3 separate regions of the Homo sapiens genome follow, and regions 2 and 3 are each linked to region 1. Evidence: promoter capture Hi-C in human tissues and cell types (Jung and others, 2019). All regions are on one chromosome and are shown on one strand. The core of a region is centred on a gene start or on the middle of the fragment in contact, and the rest is flanking DNA. Distances in the headings are between cores, read along the strand shown. Region 1 holds the start of SFRP2 (secreted frizzled related protein 2). Region 2 overlaps LOC101927947 (a long non-coding RNA gene). Region 3 overlaps LOC101927947 (a long non-coding RNA gene).

Region 1 (4,530 bases), core at 1,412-3,911:
TGGGCATCCACCATCACTTACCCTGGGCTTGGGTGAATAGATTTTCCGTGCCTTAAATGGGCAGGGAGGGGGTAAACATGGACGGTCCATTGGTACAAATAAAAGCCTTTGGTGGGTTTTGATCAATTGCAAGGATCGAAGGAGACCTGTGGACCTGAGGTCAACTGGCAGCAGAGAAGAGTCTGGGTTCGTGAAGGCGCCGCCGCGGTGCCGCGCCACGTGTGAGCATCCCAGGGACCAGTCTGGGGAGGCGCGCTGGGATGGGCACCCAGTGTCCCATCCCTGCGCTGCTCATATGGGCAGAGCTCCGTGCCCGCGTCCCAGCCTCCGCGGGAGGTTATTGCCCTGTTCCCCAGTGATCAATTGGACCGGTCTTAGCCCAAAAGCAGAAGGGAGTGGGGAGAGCGACTTGAGGTGGGAAAGGCAGCAGCAGCGAGTGCAGGGTCGGGACCAGACTAAGTGGCGTGGGTTCCGGGAGGAGCAGCGATGGGCCGCAGGGGACGCCGCGGGCCGGGCAAACAAGCTGGCCAGAGGTGGACACTGCGCACGGCAGGGATGGAGACTCAGGCGCGACTCCCAGCACCTCCTGGCGGCAAGCCGGGCAGCGAGGGCTCCCAAAACAATGCAGCCGGCGCGCGGAGCGCGGGGGCCGCCAGCCACTTCCGGGCGTGCGGCAGCGCGGGGCTCAAACCAGCCAGACCAGCTTCGGGCTCCTTGAACTCCCAACAAGGGGCTCTGCGGGGAGGAGGCGACCCCAGCGGAGGGCGTTGGGGATTTAGGGGTTGGCCGGGGCCGGCGGGGGGTTGGGGGGGCGTGAAAGCGAGAGGGCCCTTATCCCACTCCCAGGCCCAAGTCGTAGCATCTCTCAGAGCTCACGCTCTTTATTAGCTCTTTCTTTTGGTGTGCTTCTGTTTCCTTTGTGGTTTCATTGCAAAGTAGTTTATGTTGGGAAGGGGGCTTTTAGGCCTCTTGGTGCTTTCGTTAGAGACGAAAAGGCCCTGAACCAATTTGGGGAAAGAGAGGCCTTTTGCAGCTACCCCGGGCCCTTCCCCAGCAGAGCACCCGGAAGCTGGGCTCTTAGGGACGCAGATTCTTGGAGTTCAGAATGTGCATTCTCTCCAGATGACGATTTTCCTGGCGTGTTTACGGTCAGCAGATAACACTGAGTGGGCTTTTGCCACCCATTCATTCATTACCCGGCTCCTCTAAGCAGCTGGACCGCAAAGTGTGCCTGATAACTTGGGCCTGGGAGCCGCCAAGGCCAACGCATCTTCCGGAAGGAGGGAAATTAGGAAGCCGGGGTCTGAGCCTGTGAATGACTCTTAAGTGGTCGGGAAGTAATAACAATGCGCCCACCTTACATATGAAAGAACTTCGCCCTCCGGGGATTATCTCTTTGGATCTTCACAGCCACCCGGAGACAGCGGCTGAGGAGAGCGAAGGCCTCCTGTCCCCATAGGGAGACTAGGGACAATTAGGCAAAAGGAGCCCACCCCCCAACCCAGAACTTACTGTTTGCAGTCAGAGACACTAGATCCCAGGCTCCACGAGAGCAGAGGCCGGCCTGTTTGTTCATTTCTGCACATCCAGCGCCCAGCATGGTGCCCCCTGGTACGTAGGGGATGAATGAGCTAATTCTAGCCCTCGTGGATCTCTAGGCAGGACTCCTTCCTCTACCTCGCTCCCTCCCAGCCTGCCCATCTTTTGTGCCCGTCTTTTGTGCCGGCCACCAGTCTTTACAAACAGTGCCCTGGGGGCCCATACTCCAGCTTTCCAGAGCGCACAGCTGCAAGGGCGGCTGTGTGTTAGAGCCCGTGATGCCTTCGAGTATTGAGTCATGCCATTCATTTAAGAAGGAAAAATCTCTCCAAAACGGGGAAATGGTGGGCAGTCCTGTGTGACTGGTGAGACTCTTGTAGGGGCGTTTCTACAACGACGAAACCCTTCCTAGGCACTCACTCCAACAGAATAACAAGCCCATTTTATTAGTATTTCGTTTTCCATGTAAAGTTCTGCTCATACGAATATATTTATAATTCTGATTTTTTTACGGCATTGGGGAGCACACCGACAGGCTGCTGAACGGTGGCTGGAGATTCGAGGGAAAACGAAGTTCGCCGAGGCGGCCTCGGGCGGGCAGGTCCCGGGCTCCATCACAGGGCACACGCGGCTACCAGGGACGCAGCCCCCCAACACACACACACACACACACACACACACACACACACACACACACACCCTCTCCCACTCATGCCTGGCAACCCAGCAGAAACTTCGGACTGGGGCAAAACAAGCCCGGGCCCCGGCGGCACGCGGGGCTAGGCGCGTTCCCGCCAGTACCTGGTCGCGAGGCCGCTCGCGGGGTGCCCTGCGTGCCCCCCACTCCCGCAGCCCGCGCCCTGCTCGCTCACTGTGGGGGCGCAGCGGCCAGGCTTCTCTGTTTGTTGTTTAAAGAAATCCTAGGGCGGGCGAGCGGCGGCATCTAGGGGAGGGGGCGCAGCCAGAATTCCCTTCCAGCAAGCGCGTGAGGGGCATTCTCAACGCAAAACCAGACCCAGAAAGTAGTGACCAGCCCTCCTCGGATTACCCTTCATTGGCTCCTCCCTTGCTCCCCCCACCCTCCAGATTTGCATAAAAAAGGCCAAGAAAACTCTGGCTGTGCCCCAGCAACGGCTCATTCTGCTCCCCCGGGTCGGAGCCCCCCGGAGCTGCGCGCGGGCTTGCAGCGCCTCGCCCGCGCTGTCCTCCCGGTGTCCCGCTTCTCCGCGCCCCAGCCGCCGGCTGCCAGCTTTTCGGGGCCCCGAGTCGCACCCAGCGAAGAGAGCGGGCCCGGGACAAGCTCGAACTCCGGCCGCCTCGCCCTTCCCCGGCTCCGCTCCCTCTGCCCCCTCGGGGTCGCGCGCCCACGATGCTGCAGGGCCCTGGCTCGCTGCTGCTGCTCTTCCTCGCCTCGCACTGCTGCCTGGGCTCGGCGCGCGGGCTCTTCCTCTTTGGCCAGCCCGACTTCTCCTACAAGCGCAGCAATTGCAAGCCCATCCCTGCCAACCTGCAGCTGTGCCACGGCATCGAATACCAGAACATGCGGCTGCCCAACCTGCTGGGCCACGAGACCATGAAGGAGGTGCTGGAGCAGGCCGGCGCTTGGATCCCGCTGGTCATGAAGCAGTGCCACCCGGACACCAAGAAGTTCCTGTGCTCGCTCTTCGCCCCCGTCTGCCTCGATGACCTAGACGAGACCATCCAGCCATGCCACTCGCTCTGCGTGCAGGTGAAGGACCGCTGCGCCCCGGTCATGTCCGCCTTCGGCTTCCCCTGGCCCGACATGCTTGAGTGCGACCGTTTCCCCCAGGACAACGACCTTTGCATCCCCCTCGCTAGCAGCGACCACCTCCTGCCAGCCACCGAGGAAGGTAAGCCTTCCCTCTTGCTTCCCCACTCCCTGCTGGGCTGAGACGCTCCCAGGAGATCCCGCCCCTGCCACGCATCCCAGTGCATCCCTGCTTGGGGTGCCAGTAGCGGGAAGGGCAGAAGTTCTGCCTGACCTGGTCTGTCATCACAACAAGCCTGTATCAAATTTGAGGCACCCCTCCCACGCCGCCCAAGTCTCGCGCATTCTCCTCCCGAGTTGTACCAGCTATACTTAAGGGCAGTTTAAAAATAAAACAAACAAACAAAAACAACAAAACTAAAAAAACGAAGAACTGAACGGCGGTTTAAAAAAAAATAGATACACGATTATTGTTAAAGATGCTAGCACTGGAGCTGCGCAGAGCGTTGGAAGTGGTGTTTGGTGGAGGAGTTTGTGGTGAGCATTCTGGCCAGAGGCCCCTCGCTCAGCCTCATTCTGCACCTTCCTACCACTGGGCAGGATTCTAGTCACAGGAACATTTCCTGTACAGAAAGGAAAACCAGGATGCACAAGTAGATAACCTTTTAAGGGTCTTTTTGTCCTTTGTCAATTTAGATTTTGGAAATAAAACCGGGACTGGCACGGAGTGTGTGGAAAATTGAACATTGGTTGTAACTGCTCAGATACTTGAGGAAGAGGGCATAAAGGGAATCTCTGGAAATCACTTTTCTATTGCTATCAGTTTTTAACTTAGGAGTGGTTTTGATTAGCTGGAGAAAATCATGCAAAAGAGATTCCCAAGTTTTTAGAAAACGGAGGGAGAGTTCCTGTGCAAAAACCATCAAAGCAATGAAAACCTCATGGGCTCTCAATATTTTTTCTGAAAGGAAAACATATACAATGCCTCTGAGCTGATTTGGGTCCCCTGGGTTGGAAAAGGGAGCTTCCTAATCCCTTTCAGGGCTTCAGCAGCCTCTCCCTTTCAATCTCTAGTAGTTTTCCTACAGACATCATTAGTTAAAGCAAATGCAAAGTTCTTTAGCAATCTTTCCTGGCAGGGACCATGAGTTTGCAATCATCTTATTGGTTAGATTTCTAATTTATTGCAAATGTTTGGCATTTTTCAAACATTTGTCCAACATGTACCATAGACCAACCAATACAGGTTAGTAATATTTTAT
Region 2 (4,530 bases), core at 822-3,321, 180 kb before region 1:
TTTTTATAATTCTGTATATGTATTGCTTTTGGTAACATATTTAAAAGGGAGAAGCAGGAAACCAGAATTTTATTGGAAACTCCCAAGTTTAATATGTGTTGAAAATTAATACAAAATTAACAGATAGAAAGGTAGGAGGACACCTCAGGGTTCAAACAACATACCTCCCTAACTAACCTCTCTATGCCAGACCAGGCATCTGGGCCACAGGAAGGTTTTGAAGGGTAGAAAAGTAATACTTATTGAGCAACTAGCGCATGCTAGCACCATTAGAGAAGATTTTCAGAGATCATTCTGCTTCATCTTCACCACGACCCTGAGGAGTAGAGAAATTATTTTACAGATGAAGGACTAAGTCTCTGAAGGATGAAGAACATAATTGCAAGCACTCGTTTATATTTCCAACTGTGAACTTCAGAGGACTGTGGACGGCATCTGACAACTGACAACTGATTCTCATCACACCTCAGATGTGTGGAGTCATTTTACATATGAGAAAATTGAGACTCACCAAGGTCAAGTGACTGACTTTGTTATACAATGAGTAAGCAGCAGAGCTGCAATGTGGCCCCAGCCTCCAATTACAACTCCCTACTCTGAGCCTTTGGGAGACACAAACTGTGTCTTCTCCCTGTTTGTACCCCCAGCACCTCATACACTGTGCATGGCACATAGGAAATGCTCGCTCAAAGTCTGTTGACTGAAGCAGGCAAGGCTCTGAAGGGGTCTCACCTAGTTCATTAGCCCATTAGCACAGGTTGATTCCAGTAGAATCAAGCTCCCAAACTTCCTCTTTCTAGGTGCCATGCATGTGACTTGTACAAGGGCTGTCTGGATGCAGCTTCTGCAAGGGAAGACCCTTTCTCCAGAACAAGAGAGAACCATTTAGTTCACCTTCAAGTGACCCAGAAAAAGTCAATTTACAGCTCTCCAGTCCAGGACTTAACACTGAAATGTCACACACTTAAATCACAGGACAAGAGCATTTTCACTCTCACGAAATAGCAAAATTAAATCTTTAATGCCAAAAATAAAATAAAACTGTGGAAACAATTTTGGAGCCCACAGAACTTTCAAAAATGTTATTAACAAACTGTGAAATCAGGGAGATAAAAATCAGACACCCTGAGGGGGAACAGCAGGGCCCCCAGTCCAACCTCCTCACCCTGAGTCATGGAGAGACCAGTTTCCACTCTGTGAGTCCAGGAAGCAGGGGGTATGGAGCTAATGCATGTCTCCTGCTCCACGCTGGCTCTTAGGGCAACACTTGGAACATGGGATGAGTAAATTCTCCAACATATGAAATTGTTGAGAAATTGGGTTCATTCTCGTAGTTTCCCTTGGCCGATTCAACACCTCTGGGCAGGAATCGGAATTACACAGCTTATCACTAGGGCTTCCACAATAATAAATTTAAAATTATTCCCAAGAAAGAAGTACTTGTTGTATGGATTAAGTACTGTAGAGCATTCACAAAGAGCAGGGTGGATTACAAAATATTTCCAAAAGTTCCTCTTTCTTGTCTAAGATCTTTGCAGTAATGGTGATGTTAGCAGGATTCTGTTCTGCTCTTAATCAGAAAAATTTGGAGTCAGTTAACTTTATTGCTCACAGAGATGCTTCCTAAGACTAGAGAGATGATGGAATAACATCTAGAGAAGTGTATCTACCCCTAACCATGTGGCAGGGTGGTTACCTATCTAAAGTCTCTTGCCAGGTTTAAGAGGACGAGCATGTGTGAGTATGAGGAGGCTATGGCCCTATGTCCAGGAAACACAGATCTAATACCACCCCCGACCCTCGGATCCTCAGAAAAAAAAACAACACCAAAGTCCCCAAGCAATAGAATAGGGATAAGAGAAAAGGGTACAATTCTACAGACATTCATAGCTTTCCTGTAACAGTCTTCCTTGTTCTCCTGACACTGGCTCACAGGAATTTCTGAAGAACCTACTGCAGGCCCTCTGGAATATCAAATTTTTCCAGCCCTGCTCTCTGAACACAAGTTGCACAAAACTGCAAGGGTAGTTCTATATTTCTAACCATAAGTATTAAACCAGGTGGCTACTAGGCCTCCTTAGGGCCAGCAGGGTGATTCACTTCCATTCCCACTTCTATTCCCACTTCTATTCCCACTTCTGTTAAAAGTCTATTAAAGACCAATAGATAAAGCACCACAAAAATGCACATTTTTTAACTCATTCATACTTGGCATGGGAATCTCTGATTTTAACCAACATTACAAGGGAAACACTTGGATCGTGGGGGCTGGTATATCTTAGAGAAAGTCATGCAAGCAAGACTGAACTGCCTATATACATCTTCACGAATGTTCTCTGTCAATCTTTGCTCAAGAATCCTTGAAATCATGCAGTATTTCCTGGAAAAATCTCTCTTTCCTCCTTACTCAAACTTGAGGTGATGTAACCATCCTGTGTTAGGGCAGAATTATCAGCTTTAGAAATAGTTTGTCTTACAGGGTTTTTGCATTTGGGAGAAGAGTGGTTGCTGTGCTTGCCTGGCTTTGAGGACTGTCAGTCCTTTCACTGTTCTGCAAATCGACAGTCCAAAAGTGCATTAATGCTTCAAATCAAAATTATCTCCATCATATTTTTTCATATTTGCCACCCCCAAAACATCTGAAATGCTGCTGAGTATACTTGACCTTTTCTGGTGCAATTCAAGCTCAATAAATAAAACTCCACCTCTGGAATCTTTCTATGCAAATGCAAGCTTTATAATAAAGGTTGTCTCTATATTGATGGTGGAATCAGATATGGCACAACTACCCTAAAAGAGAATCTGGGACTCTGTAGTGTAGTAAAAGCCTGCAAATAATTATATCTGAGGTCACCCTTCACTTCCAACAACTTATCCTGTGGTAATTAGGAGTGTTCCTAAAGATGCTTACGCCAGCAGTTTTTATGATGGGAAAAATTTGAAATCAATCCAAAGTTTCATTAATAAGACATTGTTTCAATTAATTATTAATCTTTGTATGATGCATGGATATATATTAAAGGTAATATCAGTAGGATTATCTAATGTACTGGTTACACAGTGAGAGACATAGAAAGAGTGAAGTTTCGGCCTGAATAACTTTAAAACATGAGAGTGCCACTTACTGAGTTAGGAAACGCTGGAGGAGGAGCAGCTATAGGGCTAATCAAAACGATGTTTGCCCGAGTTCATGATCATGATCCCAGTTTACACTCAGATGTGCTTACTGGCTCTGGGCCAGGCACAGCTGTACTATTTGACAGCTATATTCACTCATTTAATTATCAGAGTAATTCTTAGAGATAGATTACTATGATTGCACCTGGGATTATGATTTACTTTTTATATCTAAATATTCCAAATATCTAAATATTCATTTACAGTGAATATGTGTACCTTATATATAAAGGCAAGTTGAATGTGTGTGTGTGATCACCCCAGTGACAAATAATGATACATGTATCAATTTTAGTACTCACTGAGTCCCTAGTGATTGCTCAATCTAGGTTGCTATGAGATTCACAAGTGATCTTTTAGTTCAGCAGTTTTCAACTTTTTTTTTCCTGCCAGGCAAGATGAGTTCATATGCAAGACTCAGTCCCATGGAAACCCCCAGAGTAATACATAGTTCCCTGTACCCTAGTTGTAATTAAACCCCCTTTTCCTCTCACTTTTAAAAACACTGGACTTCAAATGAAAGAAATAAAAATATTAAAGGGATAACCTTGAATCTGCTCTAATTGTTTTCATGTGAAATTTTGCAACTAGATTACTTTATCTATTATACCTAATACATCTGAACACGTTATTCACAACACATCCCAAAAAAATGGAGACTCACCAGTGTGTCCTTACATCAAGCTGAGATCCTCTGGTTTAGATGATTGTATGAATCAGATTCCTAGATGGTACTCATTTTTTTTTAAGTTAGGATCTCACTCTGTCACCCAGGCTGGAGTGCAGTAGTGCAATCATAGCTCACTACAACCTCAAACTCCTAGGCTCAAGCAATCCTCATGCTTCAGCCTCCCAAAGCCTTGTGATTACAGGCATGAACCACTGCACCCAGCCTGATTTTCTTTTCAACATTTTATAAATGAGAGCTCTTATTTAGTTCTGTCTTTTCTCTCCAATCACTAGGCTTCAACCACAAGTTTGGCTGTTTTGTCCAACAATTTTCATCTATGTGAACACATGCAATGAAGTACAGAGAGCTGGAGTGATTATAGCTCCTTACACTAACTAAGGAGACATTTGAGACAGGGGTCCCCACTAACTACCATGATACTCTCCCTTCTAGAGACTTGCGCAACTCTACCTGCCATGAGAATAACAGATTTGCATGGAATTCTGACTGTGCTCTGTTGCTATCTGATATTTTCAGGGTACATAAGTGCAAGATGAAACAATCATATCCAATTTAAAATGAAAAATCAGACTGAGACCTCGGCTCATTATGCTCCTCCATTAATGCCTAGTAAGCTCCCTGATTCTGGAATTTCACCAAAAGCAGTCACATTCAATTACTAT
Region 3 (4,530 bases), core at 921-3,420, 150 kb before region 1:
TGCTATGGCATGAGCTCCATGACAGCAGAGACCTCTCCTGTTTATATCTGTGTCCCCAGAGCTTAAAACACTGTAGCTCAATCAACTAAAAAGCAAAATGAAAATGTGACTGTCAGTGGATATTTTAGGGGGCAAATGTTATGAAACAAAAATAAAACAAAACAAACATTCCACCTTAACTCACAAAAGGTTATTTTCCCATCTATCTGGAAAGCTCAGGTTAGATCTTTAATAAAAATCAAAACTTTTAAAAATTGGTTTTAAAAACCTTAAGAGGAAGGTCTGTGAACAGAGAGCAGTAATTGATTTCTTTTTTTTTCTAGCTTTATTGAGGTATAATTATACATAAAAATTGTGTATGTTTACAGTGTATAACTACATATATATATATATATATATATATATATATATATATATATATATACTGTGAAATGAGCACCACAATCAAGCTAAGTGATATATCCATCACCTCACATAGCTATTTTCTTTTTTGTTGTGCTGAGAACATTAAAGATCTACTCTTTTAGCAAATTGCAAGTATACAATACAGTATTATTAACTACAGTCGCCATGCTGAACATTAGCTCTCTAGAACTTACTCATCCTGAATAACTATGACTTTGACCAACATTTCCCCATTTTCCTCAGCCTAAATCCACCAACCACCATTTTACTTTCTATTTCTTTGAGTCTCTCTTTTTTAGATTTCACATATAAGTGAGATCACATGGCATTTGTTGTTATGTGCCCAGCTTATTCCACTTAACATAATGTCCTCCAGGTTCATACATGTTGTCACAAATGACAGGATTTCCTTCTTTTTTATGGCTGAATAATATTACATTGTGTATATATGCCACATTTTCTTTATCCAATCAACCTTCAATGGACACAGGTTGATTCCATATTTTGGCTGTTGTGAATAATTCTGCAATGAACACGTGAGTGGATATACCTCTTCAAGATATTGCTTTTATTTCTATTAAATATATACCCACTCTGATTTATAGTAACCAGTTTACCTCCAGTTCATACCACACTTCACCGAGGAAGACTCGTTGACTATCACATCCAGACTACTCTAATAAGAAGCATCATAAGACCCTGGAATAATTTGCCCAAAGAATCTTGGCTATTTTCTATCTGCTTTTGGTAATTTCTATAAAAAGTAATTCTGGAAGATGCCAAATTTTAACTTCTATGCAATTCTCATAATTCTATTTTCACTGTTCACTTTACAACAAAACAAGCCAAGGTGACCACACCACTCTCCAAAGGAAGAAGTTAAAACCCCTTCCCAATAGGATCTTGGATTAAACTTAAGACCTGGACTTTGAGAATGTTCAGCTCAGGGAAATCTGACAGTATATGTATCTCTCTGCTGGATTCCACATGTCAACATATACATTTTCCATACAGCTATGAGTATATTCTACCACTATATGCTTAAAATCTAGCACTGTTTTTATTGCTCAAGAAAACCAGAAGATATTTATCCTCACATGATAATGGCTTCAGGACACAGGGGGCATTGGTGATGACCTCCAAATGAAACACACCCAGTGCTCCACGGCCACCCTTCCCCAGCCCAGCCCTGATGTTTCCCAGAGCATCTTCTGGTTACACTAACTGACAGCAACTTCAGACTCGCACATGGAAACTTACTGTTGCAGTTAGACTTTATCATCCCGTTGTTTCTTCCTGTGTAATACAGATAATCAACCACATGAAAACAGGGGCTGTGCAGAGCAAATACTATCAGATGGTCCATCAAAACCTACACTCATCAACTCCAAGAAATATAGATCAGCCTGTATTTCATCAATCTAACCTCGCAAACCCAGCCAGTGGCTATATATCTGGATTTCTTCCTCAATTCACATTGCTTTTTTATTGCTGGTTTGGGCAGTTTTTTCCACTGGATAAGTATTTGTGCTTATATATATTTTTTAATTTGATGAAATTTCTTTGCATGAAGTCTGATTTTGTATTTCATCATCTAATTCTAAGATATCTTGCTTTATGAACTTGAACATGCTGCTTTTTAAGGGAAATTAAAAAATAACATTACCTACTATTTCCAGGGACTTTATAAATATTAACTTGTTTATACATTTAAAAAGCCTACATGATATTGTTGTCTCTATTACATAAATGAAGAGAATGAAAATAATAGAAGTTAAATAACTTGCTCAAAACATTACACCACTGGTAAGTGTTGTTACAGGAATGTGAATAGAGATCTATCTGGTACCAAAGCCATGGTCTTTCCACTCCACCACACTGCCCCATCACAGATCTGGTTACATTGGGAGAATAGGAAACATAACAAGCCTATGAAGTACTAAGTGTTATCATTAAATTAGAATTCCACATAATACTTATAACAGGAATAATCAGGGTTCTCCTTATATTTTCTCCTAAATGTGCACAAACACAACTGTCTCAATGTCCTCGGGATTAAATGAGAGTCTATTTGATTTAGTAAACTATTATTAGACATTATTAGATTACATAGAGAGATACTATTATTAGATTATGTAGAGAGACACTATTGTATATGTTCATTGGAACTGGGGTTAAAAGACCTTTGAAAAATCCAGCTTCTCCATTTGATATCTGTGTGAATTTGCACACATTACTGATTATTCAGAGTTCTCTTATTTGTAAAATTGTGTTTGACAGAGAAGGACAATGCTTTCCAGATATACCACTCCACCTCCCTGCAGTCAGGGTGAGACCATGTGACTAACTCGAGCTGGTGAAATCTGAAAGCACACGACTTGAATCTCTACAGGTCAAGGAAGGTACAAACCAGTGTATCTCCTCCAGCCCTCCCTCAGCTGAAGCAACCTCAGAGGCCACATGTGTCAGATGTTCTATTTGGTATAGCTGCAAGATCGAGGTGGTTCATCCAATTACCATCACACTTTTCCTGAGGGAGAAAGAAACCTCTGTTGTGTTAAACCACTGACATTATCAGGGTTTCCCTGCTATGGCAGCTACAGTTAACTAACCCAACTAGTGCATGGGGATAATAGTTTCTGTCATACTACTTTAGATTATTGTAAGACTAAAAGAAGAATATTGAAATAAATATTTGTTAACCTTATCTTTACATGGATCTATGTAAGCCTTTATATAAGCCTTTACATAGGCTTATGATTGTTATTACACACATTTTTAAAATCTGACTTTATTACTCTGAGTTTTTTATAGTGTAATGATAATGTAAAAATTGTTTTAATTATCTTAACAATTATTTGTAAAAGAAAGTATGCTTCTGACCTGCTTAATATGTTGTTTTAAGTAAAATAAATGTTTTCTTTACCTTGTGGACACTATTTTCTTGTTCAACAAGCTTCCACAGAAGATAGTATAAACACAAGCTTTAGCTCAATTCTTATTGAACTACTACAAATATGCATGATCTTCTTTCTTAATTAATGAGGCCTCAATGGAGTTTACTTCCTAGGGAATTGCTCTCTTTTTCCTGATCATGTAGACAGCAGAAGACGGGAGAATTGGCATGCCCAATGGTTTTCACGAGATTAACACCTACAGAATAAATGCCTTTCATGCATATTAACATGGTACAGGACCTGGCTTTCAATCCCACTAACTATTGGCCTTGTTTGAAACAATGCCAATTCATTCACTAGGTATCAGAAAAAACAAGCCATGGCAAGTGAATGATGTCATGTTCCCTTTCTCTCTGTCCTTACGTATTTTTACTTGAATTTAGTATTGAGAATAGAACTAAAGTCAGAGACCAAGGTACAACAATGACCTAAATTCATGCACAAAAAGATACTACTTAGAGCTACAAAAAGGGCTTGTCTGGAGTTTGGGGAGGAGGTTGCTGCATTGAGAAAGAAGATAAACACAAAGAGAGCGAAGATAAAATATACAAAAATAGGTAGCAAATATTCCCTGTGAGACTGGGTGTGGTGGCTCATGCCTGTAATGCCAGCACTTTGGAGGGCCAAGGCAGGCAGATTGCTTGAGCTCAGGAGTTTGAGACCAGCCTGGGCAACATACCAAAACCCTGTCTCTACAAAAAATACCAAAAAATTAGCTTCTCTTAAGAGGCTGAGGTGGGAAGATGGCTTGAACCCAGGAGGTCAAGGCTGCAGTGAGCCGTGATCATGCCACTGCACTCCAGCCTGGGTGACAAAGTGAGACACTGTCTCAAAAAAAAATAAAAATAAAAAAATATACACACACACACACACACACACACACACACATTTCCTGTGAAACTTCTCCTCTTAAAGCCTTCCTTGTTTCATTTTGAAGAGGCAGGAGGATTCCAATATGAGGCAACAGTCAGACACGAAATTTGCTTCTTTCTCATGTTTCAGTTATTGGTTCATATAATTGAGTAAATAAGGGAGACGACACACATATGACACTAAGTTGTTATTATACACACATGAAGTCCCAGAAAACACGCTAGATGCTTGCTTTCAATGACTCAGTTTTAAAACTATCAAGAGCCACAACAAATCACAATGAAAGGCAGCAGAA

The links. Contacts are between HindIII fragments. The study calls those that stand out against the background at their distance.
Region 2: a contact is called between a fragment that was not itself captured here and the fragment with the promoter of SFRP2 in region 1, in 1 of the 25 tissues and cell types used here (mesendoderm cells).
Region 3: a contact is called between a fragment that was not itself captured here and the fragment with the promoter of SFRP2 in region 1, in 2 of the 25 tissues and cell types used here (mesendoderm cells and neural progenitor cells).

What each region holds. Positions count from the first base shown.
Region 1 is chr4:153,787,214-153,791,743 of GRCh38, reverse strand. It overlaps SFRP2 (secreted frizzled related protein 2), which reads left to right and starts at 2,661. Exons shown (of 3, transcript NM_003013.3): 1 at 2,661-3,410. The coding sequence starts at 2,909. RefSeq lists enhancers at 599-768, 1,030-1,731, 1,732-2,433, 2,348-2,517. The HindIII fragment of the contact is 9,313 bases long and covers 1-4,530 here.
Region 2 is chr4:153,968,753-153,973,282 of GRCh38, reverse strand. The region is part of intron 8 of LOC101927947 (a long non-coding RNA gene); the gene reads right to left. Among named protein-coding and RNA genes, the nearest start is that of SFRP2, 180 kb to the right of the region's middle. The HindIII fragment of the contact is 8,576 bases long and covers 1-4,530 here.
Region 3 is chr4:153,934,641-153,939,170 of GRCh38, reverse strand. The region is part of intron 6 of LOC101927947 (a long non-coding RNA gene); the gene reads right to left. Among named protein-coding and RNA genes, the nearest start is that of SFRP2, 150 kb to the right of the region's middle. The HindIII fragment of the contact is 5,944 bases long and covers 1-4,530 here.